Regions from separate parts of the Homo sapiens genome. Here all the other regions are linked to region 3. The links are contacts of gene promoters, found by promoter capture Hi-C in blood cells and fetal thymus (Javierre and others, 2016). All regions are on one chromosome and are shown on one strand. The core of a region is centred on a gene start or on the middle of the fragment in contact, and the rest is flanking DNA. Distances in the headings are between cores, read along the strand shown.

The links. Contacts are between HindIII fragments. The CHiCAGO score rates a contact against its expected background, and 5 or more counts as called.
Region 1: a fragment that was not itself captured here is called in contact with the fragment with the promoter of ZNF778 in region 3 in 11 of 17 cell types (naive CD4 T cells, activated CD4 T cells, total CD4 T cells and 8 more); the score reaches 12.4 in naive CD4 T cells.
Region 2: a contact is called between a fragment that was not itself captured here and the fragment with the promoter of ZNF778 in region 3, in 4 of 17 cell types (monocytes, neutrophils, fetal thymus and 1 more). The highest score is 8.7, in monocytes.
Region 4: a contact is called between the fragment with the promoter of SPG7 here and the fragment with the promoter of ZNF778 in region 3, in 2 of 17 cell types (endothelial precursors and megakaryocytes). The highest score is 6.3, in endothelial precursors.
Region 5: a fragment that was not itself captured here is called in contact with the fragment with the promoter of ZNF778 in region 3 in 2 of 17 cell types (endothelial precursors and total CD4 T cells); the score reaches 5.7 in endothelial precursors.
Region 6: a contact is called between a fragment that was not itself captured here and the fragment with the promoter of ZNF778 in region 3, in 1 of 17 cell types (naive CD4 T cells). The highest score is 5.1, in naive CD4 T cells.

The regions. Positions count from the first base shown.
Region 1 is chr16:88,945,196-88,948,334 of GRCh38, forward strand. The region is part of intron 1 of CBFA2T3 (CBFA2/RUNX1 partner transcriptional co-repressor 3); the gene reads right to left. All of the region lies in intron 1 of LOC100129697 (a long non-coding RNA gene), which reads left to right. Among named protein-coding and RNA genes, the nearest start is that of CBFA2T3, 30 kb to the right of the region's middle. The HindIII fragment of the contact is 3,830 bases long and covers 1-3,139 here.
Region 2 is chr16:88,751,745-88,754,524 of GRCh38, forward strand. All of the region lies in intron 1 of PIEZO1 (piezo type mechanosensitive ion channel component 1 (Er blood group)), which reads right to left. Among named protein-coding and RNA genes, the nearest start is that of PIEZO1-AS1, 10 kb to the left of the region's middle. The HindIII fragment of the contact is 1,378 bases long and covers 745-2,122 here.
Region 3 is chr16:89,216,340-89,219,135 of GRCh38, forward strand. ZNF778 (zinc finger protein 778) reads left to right here and starts at 1,364. Exons shown (of 7, transcript NM_001201407.2): 1 at 1,364-1,571. ZNF778-DT (ZNF778 divergent transcript) reads right to left here and starts at 1,314. Exons shown (of 1, transcript NR_186410.1): 1 at 1-1,314. RefSeq lists enhancers at 1-196, 1,146-1,195, 1,720-2,250, 2,251-2,780. The HindIII fragment of the contact is 2,087 bases long and covers 1,285-2,796 here.
Region 4 is chr16:89,506,949-89,509,735 of GRCh38, forward strand. SPG7 (SPG7 matrix AAA peptidase subunit, paraplegin) reads left to right here and starts at 1,455. Exons shown (of 17, transcript NM_003119.4): 1 at 1,455-1,652. The coding sequence starts at 1,470. LOC101927863 (a long non-coding RNA gene) reads right to left here and starts at 1,372. Exons shown (of 5, transcript NR_188547.1): 1 at 1,289-1,372. RefSeq lists silencers at 769-838, 959-1,168, 1,239-1,798, 1,829-1,948. The HindIII fragment of the contact is 2,077 bases long and covers 710-2,786 here.
Region 5 is chr16:89,550,985-89,553,712 of GRCh38, forward strand. SPG7 (SPG7 matrix AAA peptidase subunit, paraplegin) reads left to right here. Exons shown (of 17, transcript NM_003119.4): 14 at 1,995-2,151. Among named protein-coding and RNA genes, the nearest start is that of RPL13, 8.3 kb to the right of the region's middle. The HindIII fragment of the contact is 5,190 bases long and covers 1-2,728 here.
Region 6 is chr16:88,852,659-88,855,619 of GRCh38, forward strand. The region is part of intron 1 of GALNS (galactosamine (N-acetyl)-6-sulfatase); the gene reads right to left. LOC107983950 (a long non-coding RNA gene) reads right to left here. Exons shown (of 2, transcript XR_933884.3): 2 at 2,470-2,961. Among named protein-coding and RNA genes, the nearest start is that of GALNS, 2.8 kb to the right of the region's middle. RefSeq lists a silencer at 2,283-2,352. The HindIII fragment of the contact is 3,253 bases long and covers 86-2,961 here.

The sequences.
Region 1 (3,139 bases), core at 374-2,873, 270 kb before region 3:
AAATATCTGAATAAACTCGTCTTAAACACCTGCATTTTCACTCAGCTCCCTACCTAGAACAGTGAGTTTTTAAATATAACACCAAAAGCATGATGCATACAATAAAAATTTGGCAGGTTGGATTTCATTAAAATTTCATACTTCGGCTCTGCAAAAGACACTATGAAGAGAATGAAAAGACAGGCCATAGACTGGGAGAAAATATTTGGGAAACACATATCTGATGAACAACTGTTATCTAAAATATACAAAGAACTCTTAAAACCAAACCATAAGAAAACAAACAGCCCCATTAAAAATGAGCAAAAGATCTGAATAGACACCTCATCAGAGAAGAGATCTAGAAGATGATCTGGCAAATAAGCACAGGAAACGATGCCCAGCAGCCTTGCCACTAGAGAGTGGGTCAGCACAGCCACGAGAGGCCACGACACGCCTGTTAGAATAACTAAAACTCAACACACGGACAACCCCAGATGCCGGTGAGGATGTGAGGCAACAGGAGCTGTCATTCATTGCCGACGGGAATGCAAAATGGTACAGCCCTTTGGAAGACAGTTTGACTGTTTCTTATGAAACTACACACTTTTACCACGCCACCCAGCATTCACGTTTCTTGGTATTTACCCAAATGAGTTAAAAACTAATGTCCACACAAAACCCTGCACATTAATGTTGATAGAAGTTTCATTCGTTTTTACCAAAACTTAGAAGCGACTGAGACCGCCTTCAACAGGTGAATACATAAAATACTGTGGCATATGTAGACGATAGAGTGTTATCCATGACAAAAGTAGTGAGCTATCAAGCCATGGAAAGTGAACATTGATGGCCGGGCGTGGTGGCTCACACCTGTAATCCCAGGACTTTGGGAGGCCGAAGGGGGCGGATCACCTGAGGTCAGGAGTTCGAGACCAGCCTGGCCAACATGGCAAAACCTCGTCTCTACTAAAAATACAAAAATTAGCTGGGCGTGGTGGCGGTGCCTGTAATCCCAGCTACTTGGGAGGCTGAGACAGGAGAATTGCTTGAACCCAGGAGGCAGAGGTTGTAGTGGCAGTGAGCCAAGATCATGCCACTGCACTCCACCCTGGGCAACAGAGCAACACTCCATCTCAAAAAGAAAAAAAAAAGTGAATATTGCTAAGAAGTCAATCTGAAAAGGCTATATACTGTCTGATTCCAACTCAATAGCATTCAGGAAAATGTAAAATGATGGAAGTAGTAAAAAGGTCAGTGGTTTTCAGGGGGTTATAGAATAGGGAAGGTTGAGTAGGGAGAGCAGAGAGGTTTGTTTGTTTTTGGAGGCAGAGTCTTGCTCTTGTCTCCCAGACTGGAGTGCAGTGGCATGATCTTGGCTCACTGCAACCTCTGCCTCCCGGGTTCAAGCAATTCTCCTGCCTCAGCCTCCCGAGTAGCTGGGATTACAGGCGCCCACCATCACGCCCAGCTAATTTTTGTATTTTTAGTAGAGACAGGGTTTCACCATGTTGGCCAGGCTGGTCTCGAACTCCTGACCTCATGATCTGCCCACCTCGGCCTCCCACAGTGCTGGGATTACAGACACGAGCCACTGCTTCTGGCTGAGTTTTTTTGTTTGTTTATTTTTAGACAGGGTCTCACTCTGTCTCCCAGGCTGGAGTGCAGTAGCGTGATCACAGCTCACTGCATCCTTTGACCTCCCAGGCTCAAGCGATCCTCCCATCTCAGCCCCAGCTAATTGTATTTATTTTTTGTAGAGACAGGGTTTTGCTGTGTTGCCCAGACTGCACAGAGGATTTTTAGGGCAGTGACACTATTCTGTATGACAGTCTAATGGTAGACGCAAGTCATATGCTTGTCTAGACACATAGAATGTAACACCAAGAGAGAAGCCCAATGTAAACTATGGATTTCAGTTAATGAAAAGGTGTCAGTATTGGTTCATCGGTTGTAACGAATGTATCACACCAGTGCCAGGTGCAATGTAGGGACCCCCCACTAGGGAACAAGTCGGAAAGAGTAATGAGAACTCGGCGCTTTCCGCCCAGTTGTCCTGTAAACCCAGAACCACGCTAAAGAATAAAATCTATTAACTTAAAAAATTCAGCAGACAAAAATGAGGATATCAATGACATTTTATTTGCCGTTTAAAAGACAGATACAAACAGACTCTTCTGCAGCGCCTGAATCTCTACATGGCCCTTCTCTCCCTTAATGCCTCCTTCCATTCTACCCAGCCGATTTTTATCCTAATATGTTTTCATGTTTGAAAGTCTTTTGATTCCCCTATCGTACAAAACTAGGTACATAGTTGGAATGTCAAGATTTAAACATTTTCCTATGTTAAAATTTATTTCCTGGGCTGGATTATCGTTATAATTATTGGTAGTATACAACCGATACAAACAATGTGAATGTATTACACATTTTGAGAACTAATAAGGATACAAAGTAGGCTGGGCTTGGTGGCTCACACCTGTAATCCCAATGCTTTGGGAGGCCAAGGAAGTAGTATCGCTTGAGCCCAGGAGTTCAAGACCAGCCTGGGCAACATAGCAAGACCTCATCTCTACAAATAATAAAAAAGTTAGCCGGGTGTGGTGGTGCGTGCCTGTAGTCCCAGCTACTCAGGGGGCTGAGGCAGTGGGATTGCTTGAGCCCAAGAGGTTAAGGCTGCAGGGAGCTATGATCACGCTACTGCACTCTAGCCTGGGTGATGGAACGAGACCCTGTCTCAAAAATAAAAATAAAGATACAAAGTAAATTTTTGTTGGAAGACATCTCGTAAAAGGAGGGAGGGGCACTTTTTGGTAGTAGTTTGTGTATTCATGCATGAATAATACTGCCAGAAAAAGACAGGATTTGACATTAATTCCATTCCCGTGGTGGGTGTTTAATGTGAAAGCCAGAGAATCTTCAGTCCCATAAATAACTCGATCAGAACGGGAGCTGTGTCCTAACCATCTCACTGTGACCTCCTTCTGAGAGTCAGATGCCGCAAGCCACGTGGTGATTGGTCATCAAAGTCATTTTTAATAACTATCAGCTGACAAATCGGTTCTGTCCCCCCTCAATTCTGTTTCATGCAAAGACAAGAAATCAGCAGGTTGCAGCAGAGACACATTCGTGGCGAGTGGGGAGCTGGGGGCAAGGCACC
Region 2 (2,780 bases), core at 184-2,683, 460 kb before region 3:
GAAGTTCTGAAGTTCTCCACAGCTGCACTTTTCAGCCGGGTGAGTTCTGCCCCAGTCCTGTCCCCAGAGAAGGTGGCACCTCCCCTCTGCACCTGTCCAGCCAGGTGGCAGCCGTCCATGCATCCGTCAGAGCAGAGGAGCTCACGGTCTGACCTGCCAGGAACGTCCAATGCTCAACAAGTGCACCAGGGTTGGGTTCGAAGCCCGTGGCAGGGCACCTTAGTGTGGTGTGGACACCAGGCAGGGCTCCTGGAGTCAGAAGCGTAGGTCCTGGGGATGAAGGTCACCAGACCCTGAGGCTGTGGGGAGGCCAGGGAGGTGGTGCCGTGCGTGCAGTTTCCTTTGGGAAAACGAAGAAGTTCTAGAGATGGGTGTCAGTGATGGCTGCACAACAATGCGAACATGCTTACCGCTGCTGACCTGTGCCCTTCAATGCGGCTAACGTGACAAACTTTAGGCCGGGTGTGGTGGCTGAGGCCTGTAATCCCAGCACTTTGGGAGGCCAAGGCAGGCGGATCACTTGAGCCCAGGAGTTCGAGACCAGACCAGGCAACACAGAGACCCCATCTCTACAAAAAAATTCAAAAATTAGCCGGGGATGATGGTGCATGCCTGTGGTCCCAGCTACTCAGGAGGCTGGAGCAGGAGGATCACTTGAGCCCAGGAGGCTGAGGCCGCAGTGAGCCATGATCACGCTGCCGCACTCCAGCCTGGGCGACAGGGTGAGATCATCTCAGGAAACAAAGCTTTATGGATGTATATTTTGCCAGAATAAAAAAATAACCAGCCCTGAAATCTGCAAAGGATTCTCAGAAGCCCGAGCCTGAGGCTGCAAGGGGCTGGGGCTGGAGATGAGGCGGGTGCAGGGGCTGAGGATGGAGATGAGGGAGGGGCTGGAGCTGGAGGCCTCCCTGACCGCCCTGCCCCTGGCCGAGCCAGAGGGGAACCTTGAGGGGCAGAGTGGACTCAAAGGCAGAGGACGATGGGGGCATGGGAGGCACCTTGGCAGGGGTTCCCCGGCAGGCCAACGTCACCCGGCAGGGCAAGTCCCCTGCCTGAGACCATGACCCACCACGGGCCTGCCCTGGGGTGATCAGCAACACGCCCCCCAGAGTTTGTTCACTCATTCATTCATCCATTCATCCATTCATCCATTCATTCATTCATTCAATACCAAGCAGGCCCCACCAGGCAGCGGGCTTGGTCTAGGGTCCGGGGACATGGTGGACAGTTGGACAGACAGCTAAGGCTTGTCCCAGGTGGCGGCCACTCACCAACAACACAGACAAGGAAAAGGCTCAGAGAGGAAGAGGGCTACTTAGCCCAAAGCCCACCCACCGCCCCCAGAGCACACCCACCGCCCCCCAGAGCACACTCACCCCCGGAGCACCCCTGCCCCCCCAGAGCACAACCGCCCCCCCAGAGCACACCTATCCATCCCCAGAGCACACCCCGCCCCCCAGAGCACACCTGTCCATCCCCAGAGCACACCAGCCCCCCCAGAGCGCACCCAGCCCCCCAGAGCTCACCCGCCCCCCCAGAGCGTACCCGGCCCCCCGCAGCACACCTCCCGCCCCCGGAGCACACCTGCCACCCCCAGAGCACACCCACTCACCCAAGGACGGGCTGAGACAGGAGGGCCCTGGCTGGTCCCTGGCGCCATCTTCTGTCAGCCTTGCCACAGACACCAAGCAGGGGCAGCCTCACGGGTGGGATGAGAAGGGGGCTCAGGGTCACAGCCCAGCCCACCACTTCTCCCATCATCTGGTCTTGGGGTCCTCGGAGTAGCCGGCTAGCAGGGCAGGAGTGAGGAGCACTCCTCCAATGCTCCAATGCCCCCATTTTCAGATGGGATGGGCTCTGAGAGGGGAGGAGCTCCCAAGAGTGGTCAGGACCCAGGTCCGGGCATCCCGGCCGCAGGGCCACGGCTTTTCGAAACACTCCTTGGATCTACCTGTGCTGTCTATGCAGCCGGCAGTGCTCTTGGTCTAAGTGTGTTGATGTGGCCTCAGCTGTGACTTTGTGGGCTAAAGCCAGAGGGGGAGACTTCAGAGCAGGCTGCCTGGAGGAGACGGCATTGCTTTTGGCCCTGAAGACTGGCTCCAACTCAGGGCAGGTCGGAAGCTTCGCAGATCAGGCTCAGGCAGAGAAGGAAGAAATTCAGCCAAAGGGGAGGCGGGGCCTGAGACAATCCAAGGAGCGGGGACAGGAGCCTGCCCTGCCCTGTGGCTCCCATGTTCCCATCAGGAGCTGCCCAGGCTGGGCCTGTGACCCCGTGGGGGTAATGCCTTTTCCTGAGTCAGCTGCAATGGGATGGGGTCAGAGAGAGCTGTGGTTCCCAACCCCCAACCCCCTCGCCTCACCAGCACACGCCTGACTATGGCCCACATCCAGCTCCTTGGGAAGCAGAGAGCCCAGCCATCACCCATCCACAGACCTTCATCCTACAGCTGAGAGGAGCACAGTCAGGAGGGGAGAGGCTGCCCCCACGGTAGCTGCTGGGCCCCTGGGTGTCCAAGGGCTGGGCTGGCCTCTGCTTTCAGTGGGTGCTGGCCAGGAAAGCCACAAATGCCACATGGTGGTAACCAGGACCACACACCACTCAACCGGAACATTCCACAAAGAGGGCTGGACACCACCCACTCCCACTGGCACATAGGAAGACCTGCCAGGGGATGTCAGATGCCTGAGCCCCCCTGCCAGGATCCAGTTCCTGGGATGAGACCCTTGCAGCTGACCCACGCCCGGGTGGGAGAGGAGAAACTGCCCAACCCTCGTTC
Region 3 (2,796 bases), core at 114-2,613:
CGTGAAATTGTGTCCAATCTCTGCTAGCCATAGATAAGATAAATCCTGGGGCTCTAAAGACTGCAAGCCGTTGCTGCCCTTCAGAGCTTTGTGACTCAGACACCTGTCAGGCTGCTGAGAAACGTGATCTAGTCACGTCAGCCCTCCCCCTGTCTGATCTCCTTCTTCTCTGGGAGTTCTCTGCGCGCCCCCCGCCCACGCTCATTTTTTTCTCTTTTCTGAGTAGTGACCCCCAATTCGAAGCCTGTGGGTAATCTCATGGTGCGTGAGACTCCCTCACCCTCCAACCTGTCAAAGCTTGTGCGCCACCGCCACCTCCTGGGCACATCTTGTTTCTTAATCAGCCACGAAATCACGTGAACACTTCACATGTGGTTTTGTTTTGTTTTTCACATTTAGACTCCTGATCCGTTTGGAGTTTATCCCTGTGAGATCCAGAATTAATTTCATCATTTCTCAGACGGCTAACCATTTGTCTTAGCACCTTTCATTATAAACTGCATGTTTGTTCCACCGCTCTGAAATTATGTTTATGAACCAAATTTCCATGTTACTGGGTTGATGTCTGGATATTCCATTTGTTTCCTGTTCATGTGTCACTAGCACACAGTTTTAATGACAGAGGCTGTTTTCGCATCTGTCGGGCATTGCGCTTTTGTTTGTCCGCGTCGTCTGCGTTATGAGACATTTGTTCCTCCATGTGAACTCCAGGATCAATATGCCTGGTTCCAAAAAAAAAACCTTTTCGTATTGTTACTGGAATCATGTGACATTTCTGAATGAACCTTGGGAGAACCCCTGGTATCAGTGCTATTTTGCAACGTAGTATAGGTGGTCTTGGCTCCTACGGTACATTAGAAAAGTAACAGAAACGCATATTTGAAGCGAAAAATAGATGAACATTTACAGAAAAAAAAAATACCACATTGAAAATGCAGTGGAATCAACTGTTAAAAGTTCGGCGTGATGTTCAGACAGATAAAAAGGAACGGGGCCAGTGACTCCCTGCAGAGATCGAGAGAAGACCGAGCACTCCCAGCACCCGCGGGCTTCTCGCTGTGACCGAACCGCGGGCCGCGCTCGCGACGAGCACTTCCTGGCTGTACCCGCCCAACCGCGCCCTCCTGGTCTGTTCCGGCTCCGCAGTTGCGTCCAGAGGCCTGATCCTTACGTCCGCCTGGTCCTCCGGGCCTGTCTCTGCCTCCAGCCCGGTTCCCAAGGGCGCCCCGGGGCCCTCCCGCACCCTCGCGGAAGAAACTACTACCTCCCCGCACCATAGGCCAAAGCTTCGGCCCGGAGGCTGGAGGCGGAAGTGACGCCAAAGACGCGCCGGCCCCTCTTCCGGCGCCGGCCCCGCCTCCGCCTGTCTTACAGCTGATCCGGTTCTTGCGGCGGTGCGTGCTGGCGCCGGAGAGTTCCGCGCGTGTCCTCGGGCTGTCCGCGGGGAAGCTGGTCCGGGAGTGGGCGCCCGCCCGCCTGCCTCGCGCCTTGCGCCCCCGGCACCGCTTCCAGAAGGGAAAGTCGCCGCCGCTCGCGGTAGACCCGGGCAGCGCTTCCATTCCGCGGAGCTGGTGAGAGAGGGGCCCTTTGCTTCCTTCACTTTGAACAGGGCGTGTTTCTGTGAGAATCTGGCTTCGGCTTTGACGTTTTTTATTTGTTTCTGGCACATTGTGTTGGGACCGAAGCGTAAGGTAGACCCCTGAGCGCCCCGGGCGTGCAGCTCCCTGTGAAAGTTAGCCCGTGGGGGCCAGCGGGAGCGCGCGTCCCTCGCCGCCGGGACTTCCAGGCCCGGCCCTCGGGGCGGGAGGGATGCGGCCGTTGTCCCGCTGGTCTTGGAGTAATCGAATCCACGGTGAACAGTGTGTTTCGACTAACTGTATTTTTTCTCACGTTTTGCTTTAGAAAATCTGAATCTAATAAAAATGTGAACATCTGCTACAAGGAATATCCACTGCAATCGTTTTACTCCTTTTTAGCTTTGGGCCATGTTTTCTCTCTCCCCCAATAAATAAACCTTACGGTGAATTATTATTTGAGTGTAAGTAAGTTGAAATTAAACTGCACACATGATACTTAACCTTTAAATACTTGGTAAAGCGTCTGTTAAGGGTAAGGACATTATCCTACTGAAACCACAATATTAGTATTTCATCTAAGAAAATTAAAATTAGGCCGGGCGCGGTGGCTCACGCCTGTAATCCCAGCACTTTGGGAGGCCGAGGCGGGTGGATCACGAGGTCAGGAGACCGACACCATCCTGGCTAACACGGTGAAACCCCATCTCTACTAAAAATACAAAAAATTAGCCGGGCGTGGTGGCGGGCTCCTGTAGTCCCAGCTACTCTGGAGGCTGAGGCAGGAGAATGGCGTGAACCCGGGAGGCGGAGCTTGCAGTGAGCCGAGATGGCGCCACTGCACTCCAGCCTGGGCGACAGAGCGAGACTCCGTCTCAAAAAATAATAATAATAATTAAAAATAATAAGGTCCGCTGGGCACAGTGGCTCACGCCTGTAATCCTAGCACTTTGGGAGGCCGAGGCGGGTGGATCATCTGAGGTCGGGAGTTCAAGACCAGCCTGACTAACATGGAGAAATCCCGTCTCTACTAAAAGTACAAAATTAGCCTTGCATGGTGGCGCATGCCTGTAATCCCAGCTAGTCGGGAGGCTGAGGCAGGAGAATCGCTTGAACCTGGGTGGCACAGGTTGCGGTGAGCCAAGATCGTGCCATTGCACTCCAGCCTGGGCGACAGAGCAAGACTCCGTCTCAAAAAAATAAAAAAATAAAAAAATAAGAA
Region 4 (2,787 bases), core at 205-2,704, 290 kb after region 3:
CAAAAGGAAAAGCGGTTCAGTTGTGAAAATCAGTGTCAGCCCTGGGTGTAGGGGAAGGTCCTCTCCACAAACCAACAGAACACCTCCCCAGCCCCGAGCACCTCTGCCGAGGCACCCGGCCCACTGGAGGGCTGAGGGCGGATAACCACGATAACTGAAAACACTTTCCTGAGCGTCTCGGGGCTGAGGAAGAGGGAGGATTACACGCAGCCCACTGGCTTTGCAACCTCGTCTGTAGTGGTGGAGTGAGTGCAGGTCCAGAAACAAACCAGACCGGCCTTGAAATTCTGCCCTAACTTCAGAGCTGTAATCCTAGGCAGGTTACTTTTAATACTTCTGAATCTTTCTTTACATGTAAAATAGAGGTATTGTATTCGCTGCACAGGGTTGTGAATATTACATGGGTGTTCGACACGGAGCTAGGCACTCGGTGATGTTGGCTGTCGTCACTGGCATTCACTGTTACGAATTTGCGGAGTACAGAAAAGCATAAAAATAAATAGGTCACCCTCATCCTACCTCTGTGACAGACCATCTAGTCTTTGCTTTTCCTACTCAACAAGCTTTCCAGCTCTTGGCGTCAGCTCTAGACCTAAGGCGGACGGAGGAAGGGGTCGGGGTGGCGGAGGACCCCGCGCGCCTGGGAGCCCACGAGGGACCCTGCCCGGGCCCGGAGGGCGGACCCTGAAGAGAACAGAGCCTCTTCCTAAGCTTCCAGACGGCGCCTCCCCGCTTCCTACGATGGGCTCGCGCAGCGGCCGGGGCAGGACCGAGGCTCGAAGCGCCTCCGAGGTGAGCCAGTCCGAAGGCACAGGACGGAGCGCTCCGAAGTCAGAGGTGTGCGGGACGAGCTCTGCAGACGCCTGCCAGGCCGCGCCGCACTGCGCGCTCCCTCCCTCACGACCCTCCTCCTCCGGGGCTGCCCTCCCTGCGGCGGCTGCAACTTCAGTCCTCGTCCTCGGGCGGCTCAAGACGCAGGAAAACCGCCCCCTTCCTGCGCTCCTCACACCCGAAGGGGCCCTCCCGACCCGAGGCCTCCGGCGCCGCCCTCCTGAGCGCGGGCCTCTACTCGCAGGCGGGATTCCGGCCCGCACCATCCGCCCTCGCCTGTGACCGAACCCTGCGGGTGACGCAGGCTGCCCGGGCGTGAGGCCCCTCGGCGCGGGCGGAGCACGACCACGCAGCCACGACCCGGCCGGTTATTCACCCGCCAGGCCCTGGGAATACAAGGCCGGCTTCAAAAAAACCAGGGCACCCGCGACCTCCTCGCAGACGCGCGCCCCCATACCCGGGCCTCAGGCAGCCACGAGGTAGACGGGCTCAGGCTCGGGGGTGCGGCAAGCGGCACCCGGGCGCGGCGGGGCGCAGCTGTGGGGACCGCGCAGGCGCCACGTCAGACCCCGCCCACCCCGCCGCGCAGGCGCCGTGTAGCGCCCCGCGGATCACGCAGGCGCGGCTTTCAGGCCAACATGGCCGTGCTGCTGCTGCTGCTCCGTGCCCTCCGCCGGGGTCCAGGCCCGGGTCCTCGGCCGCTGTGGGGCCCAGGCCCGGCCTGGAGTCCAGGGTTCCCCGCCAGGCCCGGGAGGGGGCGGCCGTACATGGCCAGCAGGCCTCCGGGGGACCTCGCCGAGGCTGGAGGCCGAGCTCTGCAGGTAAATCCCCGCGGAGTCCGGGCCCCACCTCCCGCCCGGCTCTGCTCTGTAAGGCCCAGCCCGGCGGGGCGGGTCGGAGGCCGCCTGGCCCCTGCGGCGGGGGAGCCTGCGCCTGTGGGCCCGCGGATCCCCCAGCTGTGGACCTCGGCGCGGAGCGACTGTTGGGGCCCTGGATCGTGGGCGCTGGGCGGGCCGGGAAGAGGCAGGGCTGGGATCCGCGCAGTCCTCGGCGTGGACTTTCCCAACCCGTCTGTTGTGTGTGGATGTTCTCCGCCCGTCTTCCTCGCCTTTTAAAGTGGAATCCAGTAACGGTTTCCGGCGTAGCACTAATTTACAGTCCACGCCTGTGGATCGATTCCGTCACCAGGAATTCCAGCGCCTTCCAGTTAGGGTGGTTATTGCCGAGTAGGGGGCCCAGAACGTTTCTGTGTCCGCAAAATACCCTGTAGCTGCATTTTGCTGTTGTCATGTAGCTCGGCACGTTATTGATACAGTCATTGAGCACCCCCTGTAGTGCGGCCTTGTTTCAGGTTCTGCTAAGGATAGGATAGCATCTCCTCCCGAAAACCAGACCTTGTGTCCTTCAGCTTTTGGGCTGATGTTTTTTTCTCCTAGCCCTCGCCTAGGAGCTTAGCCCACACCTTTTAGGTTGTTGTTTTTTCGGTTATTTTTGAGACAGAGATCTCGCTCTGTCGCCCAGGCTGGAGTGCAATGGTCTTGGCTCACTGCAACCTCCGCCTCCCGGGTTCAAGCGATTCTCCTGCCTCAGCCTCCTGAGTAGCTGGGATTACGGGTGCGCGCCACCACACCCAGCTAATTTTTGTATTTTTAGTAGAGACGGGGTTTCACCATGTTGGCCAGGATGGTCTCCATCTCTTGACCTTGTGATCCGCCTGCCTCGGCCTCCCAAAGTGCTGGGATTACAGGGCGTGAGCCACCGCGCCCGGCCATAAAACATATTTAAATGGGAAAATGTTTATCTTGAAAGGAGAACTCTGAAAGTATATACTTGTTAACTGGTTTGGTACCTGGAAATGTTCTACAAGGAGCCACTCTCTGGTGACAGCAGGAGCCCCGTGTCTGGGCAGCCACTGTGGCCTTTGGAGAGCTGGGCTGCTCCCTTTCTCCTGCAGAA
Region 5 (2,728 bases), core at 62-2,561, 330 kb after region 3:
ATTCTAGGCTGGGCATGGTGGATCACCTGAGGTCAGGAGTTCAAGACCAGCCTGGCCAACAGGGCAAAACTGTCTCTACTTCAAACAAACAAACAAAAAACTACTCTTGTAGGCAGCTGTGAACTCGATGGACATTTATTCTTACCAAATGGTGATGTTACAGCTTCTCTAAGACGTGGCTCCACCACCGGGAGTCCGAGTGCTGCCAAGAGGAGGTCTCTACTCGGAACGCAGGTGCCGTCTTTACAGTGGAGCCCCAGGAAGCCGTGCAGGTTTGAGGCTCACCTGAGAAGGCGGCAGTGCTGTGTTCCTACCTCAGGGTTCACTGCAAACAATGCATACGCTGTAGCAGTTGCCAGCTTGGTTTGTCAGTGCTGGTCTCCGTGATTGGTTCTCAGGTGTGAGTTGTAGCAAAGTTGCGTGTTAATCAGAGAGCGTCCTGCCCATCCCAGGGTCTCAGCAGGGCTGAGGCAGCGTTTGGGGACCAGATCCGTGCTGCTCCTTGGCGATGTGCACCACAGTCATGGGACCAGAGCTAGGCCCACTGTGGGGCGAGTGGACACTCAGCTGGGGGTCCCATTTATGGGACACTAAAAAACTCAGCAGTGAACACGACGTTTTAACACGGTATGTCAAGAAATCAAAATTAATGCAGGGACTTTGGGAGGCCAAGGCGGGCAGATCACTTGAGGTCAGGAGTTCGAGACCAGCCTGGCCAACCTGGTGAAACCCCATCTCTACCAAAAATACAAAAGAATTAGCTGGGCGTGGTGGTGCGTACCTGTAACCCTAGCCACTTGAGAGGTAGAGGCACAAGAATCGCTTAAACCCGGGAGGCAGAGTCTGCAGTGAGCCAAGACTGTGCCACTGTACTCCAGCCTGGGTGACAGAGCAAGACTGTCTCTCAAAGGGAAAAAAAAAGAATTTTTACTGTATTTGATGGGCAAAAGTCAGATAGTCACAATGAAAAAGTGAGTCTCTTTCCCAAGGCTCAGTGTCCTGCCAGGAAAAGGTTGTGAATTGGCTGTTATGGTTTTGGTCATTAATGCAATCATCACTGCAGCCGTTATTTAGAGCTTCTTTTTGTTTTGAGACAGGGTCTCTCTCTCTGTTGCCCAGACCGGAGTCCAGTGGTGCGATCACAGCTCACTGCAGCCTCGACCTTCCGGGCTCACACGATCCTCCTACCTCAGCCTCCTGCATAGCTGGGACTACAGGCATGCCCCACTGGTGGCTCGAGTGATTTTTATATTTTTTGTAGCGAAGGGGTCTCGTTATGTTGCCCAGGCTAGTCTCGAACTCCTGGGCTCATGCAATCTGCCCACCTCTAACTCCCAAAGTACCGAGATCACAGATGTGAGCGACCCCGCCCAGCCTAGTTTTAGATTTTAAATTAAGCGTCCTCGGGATTCTCAGAGCACTTGGATGTGGCCATCTCGCCGCCACAATTCTCAGAAGCAGCAGCTGGGCCAGCCCCTGCCCCGTCTCCGTCCGTCTCCCACTCAGCGGTTCCGTGTTGTCGAGTTAGCTCGTTGCCCCGCGCCACCTCCTTGCACACCTGATGTGGGGCTGTGGGGGAGCAGCAGAGGTGAGGACAGCCTCTGCTGCCTCAGCATCGTGGGGTTCTCATTGCTCTGAACCCTCAGTAGCTGTCGCTGGTGTGAGGGGTCAGCGCAGCGGCCATCGGGGGTGAAACTTGTCCTTCGCCTCTCAGCTGTCTTCTACGGGCCTTGTCTTCTTGACTCCCTGCCTGTCTAGTCATGTATGAGAAGACACTTCCCGGCAGTGTGTGAACAGGCACCTGTGGTGGGAACGCTGCTGTCTCTGGGCTGGCCATCTAGAGTGTTAGGATCCCCTGTTGTTGTAGAGGATGCTGCACATTTGCCTTCCTGCTTTGAGACGCTTTAATGACGGAGACCTCTTAGTCCCACACCTTCCTCCTCAAAGCCCACGCATCCTGCCTACTGACCTGGGTCATCTTGACCTTGTGCCAGGTCTCCATAACCCCTCGGACAAACGCCGCCCTGGGCTTTGCTCAGATGCTCCCCAGAGACCAGCACCTCTTCACCAAGGAGCAGCTGTTTGAGCGGATGTGCATGGCCCTGGGAGGACGGGCCTCGGAAGCACTGTCCTTCAACGAGGTCACTTCTGGTGAGGAGCAGCGGCGCGGGCCCTGGAGGTTTCAGAGCGCTTTTCCCTGCATGACTCCTTCTGTTCCAGTGCATGCCATGGGGTGAATCTGGTGTAGACGTAGCTTTGAATTTATTAAGTATTTTGTAAAAGATAAGTTGTGGTCATAAGAGAGTTGGAGCTAAGCAAGACTTCTTAGATAATTTAATTGGACAAAAACTTAACCTATATGCCAACTCTAGACACATTTAATTGGTTAATTGTTGGTAATGGCTACAGGAAACGGAATAAAATTGAAGCGGCTTCATTGTTCTGAAGCCATTACTGCACTGGGATATCCAGAGAGCTGAAGGAGGGTCCCGGGGGCCCCTGGGCTCCAGGTCCATGGGTTTGCCTCGCATAGGCCTGGGCTTGTGCTTGAGAACTGCCATGCAGTGAGCTCCAGTATGCCCCCGGGTTCTAGATTTCCAAATAAAAGAGCATTTCGGAAAGTTTTAAGACTCTCTTAAGGAACAGTGGTGAGGTGCCAACGTCCTCACTGTCCAGCTTCACGGTGGGTCCTCGGGAGGAAGGGGATGGAGGTGGTGCTGCCTCAGTG
Region 6 (2,961 bases), core at 462-2,961, 360 kb before region 3:
AACTAGAATCAACAGTGTAGAGAAGACCTTAGATGACCTGATGGAGCTGAAAACCATGGCACCAGAACTACGTGACGCATGCACAAGCTTCAGTAGCCGATTCGATCTAGTGGAAGAAAGGGTATCAGTGATTGAAGATCAAATTAATTAGCCGAGTGTGGTGATGGGCGGCTATAATCCCAGCTACTCAGGAGGCTGAGGCAGGAAAATTGCTTGAGCCCAGTAGTTTGAGGCTGCAGTGAGCTGTGATCGAGCTACTGCACTCCAGCCTGGGTGACAGAGCCAGACCTTGTCTCAAAAAAAAAGTCCTGGCTGGGTGTGGTGGCTCATGCCTGTAATCCCAGCACTTTGGGAGGCTGAGGCAGGCAGATCACCTGAGGTCAGGAGTTTCAGGCCAGACTGGCCAATATGGTGAAACCCCGTCTCCACTAGAAATACAAAAATTAGCTGGGCACGGTGGTGGGAGCCTGTAGTCCCAGCTACTCGGGAGGCTGAGGCAGGAGAATTGCTTGAACCTGGGAGACGGAGGTTGCAGTGAGCTGAGATCACACCACTGCAATCCAGCCTGGGTGACCAGAGTGAGACTCCATCTCAAAAAAAAAAAAAAAAAAAAAAAAGGCCTAAAAGCCCCCAAATGATTGTCCACGTTCAGCGAGCACAGCTGTGAGCCATGGATCAGTATCCTTCAGAATTTCAGAGTTTTAAGAAACGCAGTTTCCATTCCTACTGGTTGCTATGGGATTATTATGAAGACGAGCAGGCCAGTGCTTGTCTGTTTCAAACGAGGGGCACTGAGCAACCCTCCCCGGACTCTGGTGGCTCGACGAGGCTGCTGTGGCAACAGGAGCTGGCCTGGGTGGCCCTGACTCTCCACTTCCTCTGTGGTCAGGGCTGACCCTCCTTAACCCTATTTTCCAAATAAGGAGTGGAGACACAGAGTGCTGCTCGCCCTGGGAGGCAGGAGCTGTGTGTGGGCCAGAGTGGAACTTGTCACTGGGTCTCACCTGTCTCCAAGGCCCCAGAAGCCCTGGAGAGCAGAGTGGGCCACGCAGGTTTCCTCACTCACGCAGCAGGTGCCCAGGGTACTACGAAGCCAGGCCGCGCTGGACCGTGGGTCAGTGAAAGGCCAGGGCAGGGCAGCCCTGGGGAGTGCAGGTAGACCCGTCCTTGCCCGGCTCAGCTCCCCCTGGACAGGTGGGGGCTCTTGCCAGCTGCTCTCACCCCTGAGTCCCAGCTTCCCCTTCTGGTCCCGACTCTGGGGGCAATGGTTCTCTCCCGGGTCAGTGTGACCAGTTGGAGAGTGGCTTCTGGCCATGAGGGGTGCAATAAGCTAGTTTTGGGGACAACCCTTTTCTGAAACTGCACTTGCTTAGACGAAAGGGGGGCCCAGGCCCCCCACTGCCCAGCCACAGAGGACTGGATAGGGGGAGACTGGGCTGGAGGCAGCCGGTCCCTGGAGGGCCATGCTCCAAAATCTGAACTTGAGACATGCACACTCGTCCTCAAGTGGTGCTGGGCCCAGAGCTGTGGGTCATCAAGCCATCCCATGTCATGCCAGAGGCCGAATGACCTGTTGCAGGTTCAGACGCCAGCGCCCTGGCAGAAACAACCGGTCTGCAGTGCAGGAAGAGGTGTGGACAGGGCTGCGGAGGAAGCCCCGGACTCCAAGGAGAGAAGACAGCCTGTGAGGACCCCCTTGCACCCTGGGCCACGTCAGGGCACCTCGGGGCTCCACTGTGAGCTTCTGTGGCTCTCACCTGCCAGCATCCCTGCCCTGTCCTGGCAGCTGCACCATGGGCCCTTCAGGGAACCCCCTCTCTGCTGGGTCCAGGCAGATGAGATGATCAGGGGCAGTCTCCCTTCTGGGGTAGGCCCGAGGCTCCGAGGCCTGGGCTGGACAGGTCAGCATGTGCCCCTCCCCCAGTGTGCTTGGCGCAGGGCTGAGACCCACATCACGCTAACATGACACGGGCAGAGCCAACCTCCCACTGGGTCTGCTGACTGCAGGGGTGACTTGGAGTCACCTAGGACCATCACAGGCTGAGTGAGGATGTGGCCAGTTCAGAGGCAGCAGAGCCACGAAAGGGGAAACTCGCCAGGCGGCCCTGGTCTGTCGACTCAGGAGGGCCAGGGAATCCCCACTGTTGCTTGTCACTTTGACTTCATCTTCTGCTGTCTGCATCAGAAAGTCCTTACAAGTACACCTACCGGCCAGGACACAGCTCCTCTGGGGTTCTTTAGGCGTCAGCTGCCAAACGACCCCACAAGCCACACAGTGGAGGCCACAGAACAGGTGCCCAGGTGGGCGGGGCTTCCTGTCACCCTCCCCCACATGTGCCCCGGTGGCCACACCCCACCCCTCCACCCTGCACGGCCTGAACCCTTGCTGTCCTATGGAAACGTAGGGTGAGTCCACATGCAATTCCCTATTTACCGGGAGCCACATTAGAAAAGCAGAAGTAGGTGAAATACAGACTAACTTTATATTTTATTTAACCCAACATAACCAAAATATTATTTCGACAAGTCTTCAACATAAAAAATTATTCATGAGCTGCCCCGCCTCACCCCTCTGTCCTCTGAGAAAGTCAGGAAAAGCAGAAACTTAACAGGGAGGCTTCACCTGCAGAGCCCAGCTCATCCAGCGAAGCTATGCTGGCCCAGAAGGAGTTACACAATGAAAAGAAGAAATTCTGAAACAAAGTATCTACACTGGCCCAGAGGAACTTCAAAAGTGAAAGGATGAAATTCTGAAGCAAAGTATCTTTAGGAGGGAGATGCCACTCAGTGCAGAGAAAGGCCCGGCTACTGCTGTCAGGACACGGACCCCTGGGCGCTGGAGAGCGTGCTCTGGAAAGCAGTCACTGCACACAAATAAGACATATGAGATGGAAAAGCAGCTGCCCAGGACTGTCGGCTGTCACCCCTGGGTGGGGAAATTATGGGTGGTGTCTGTTATCT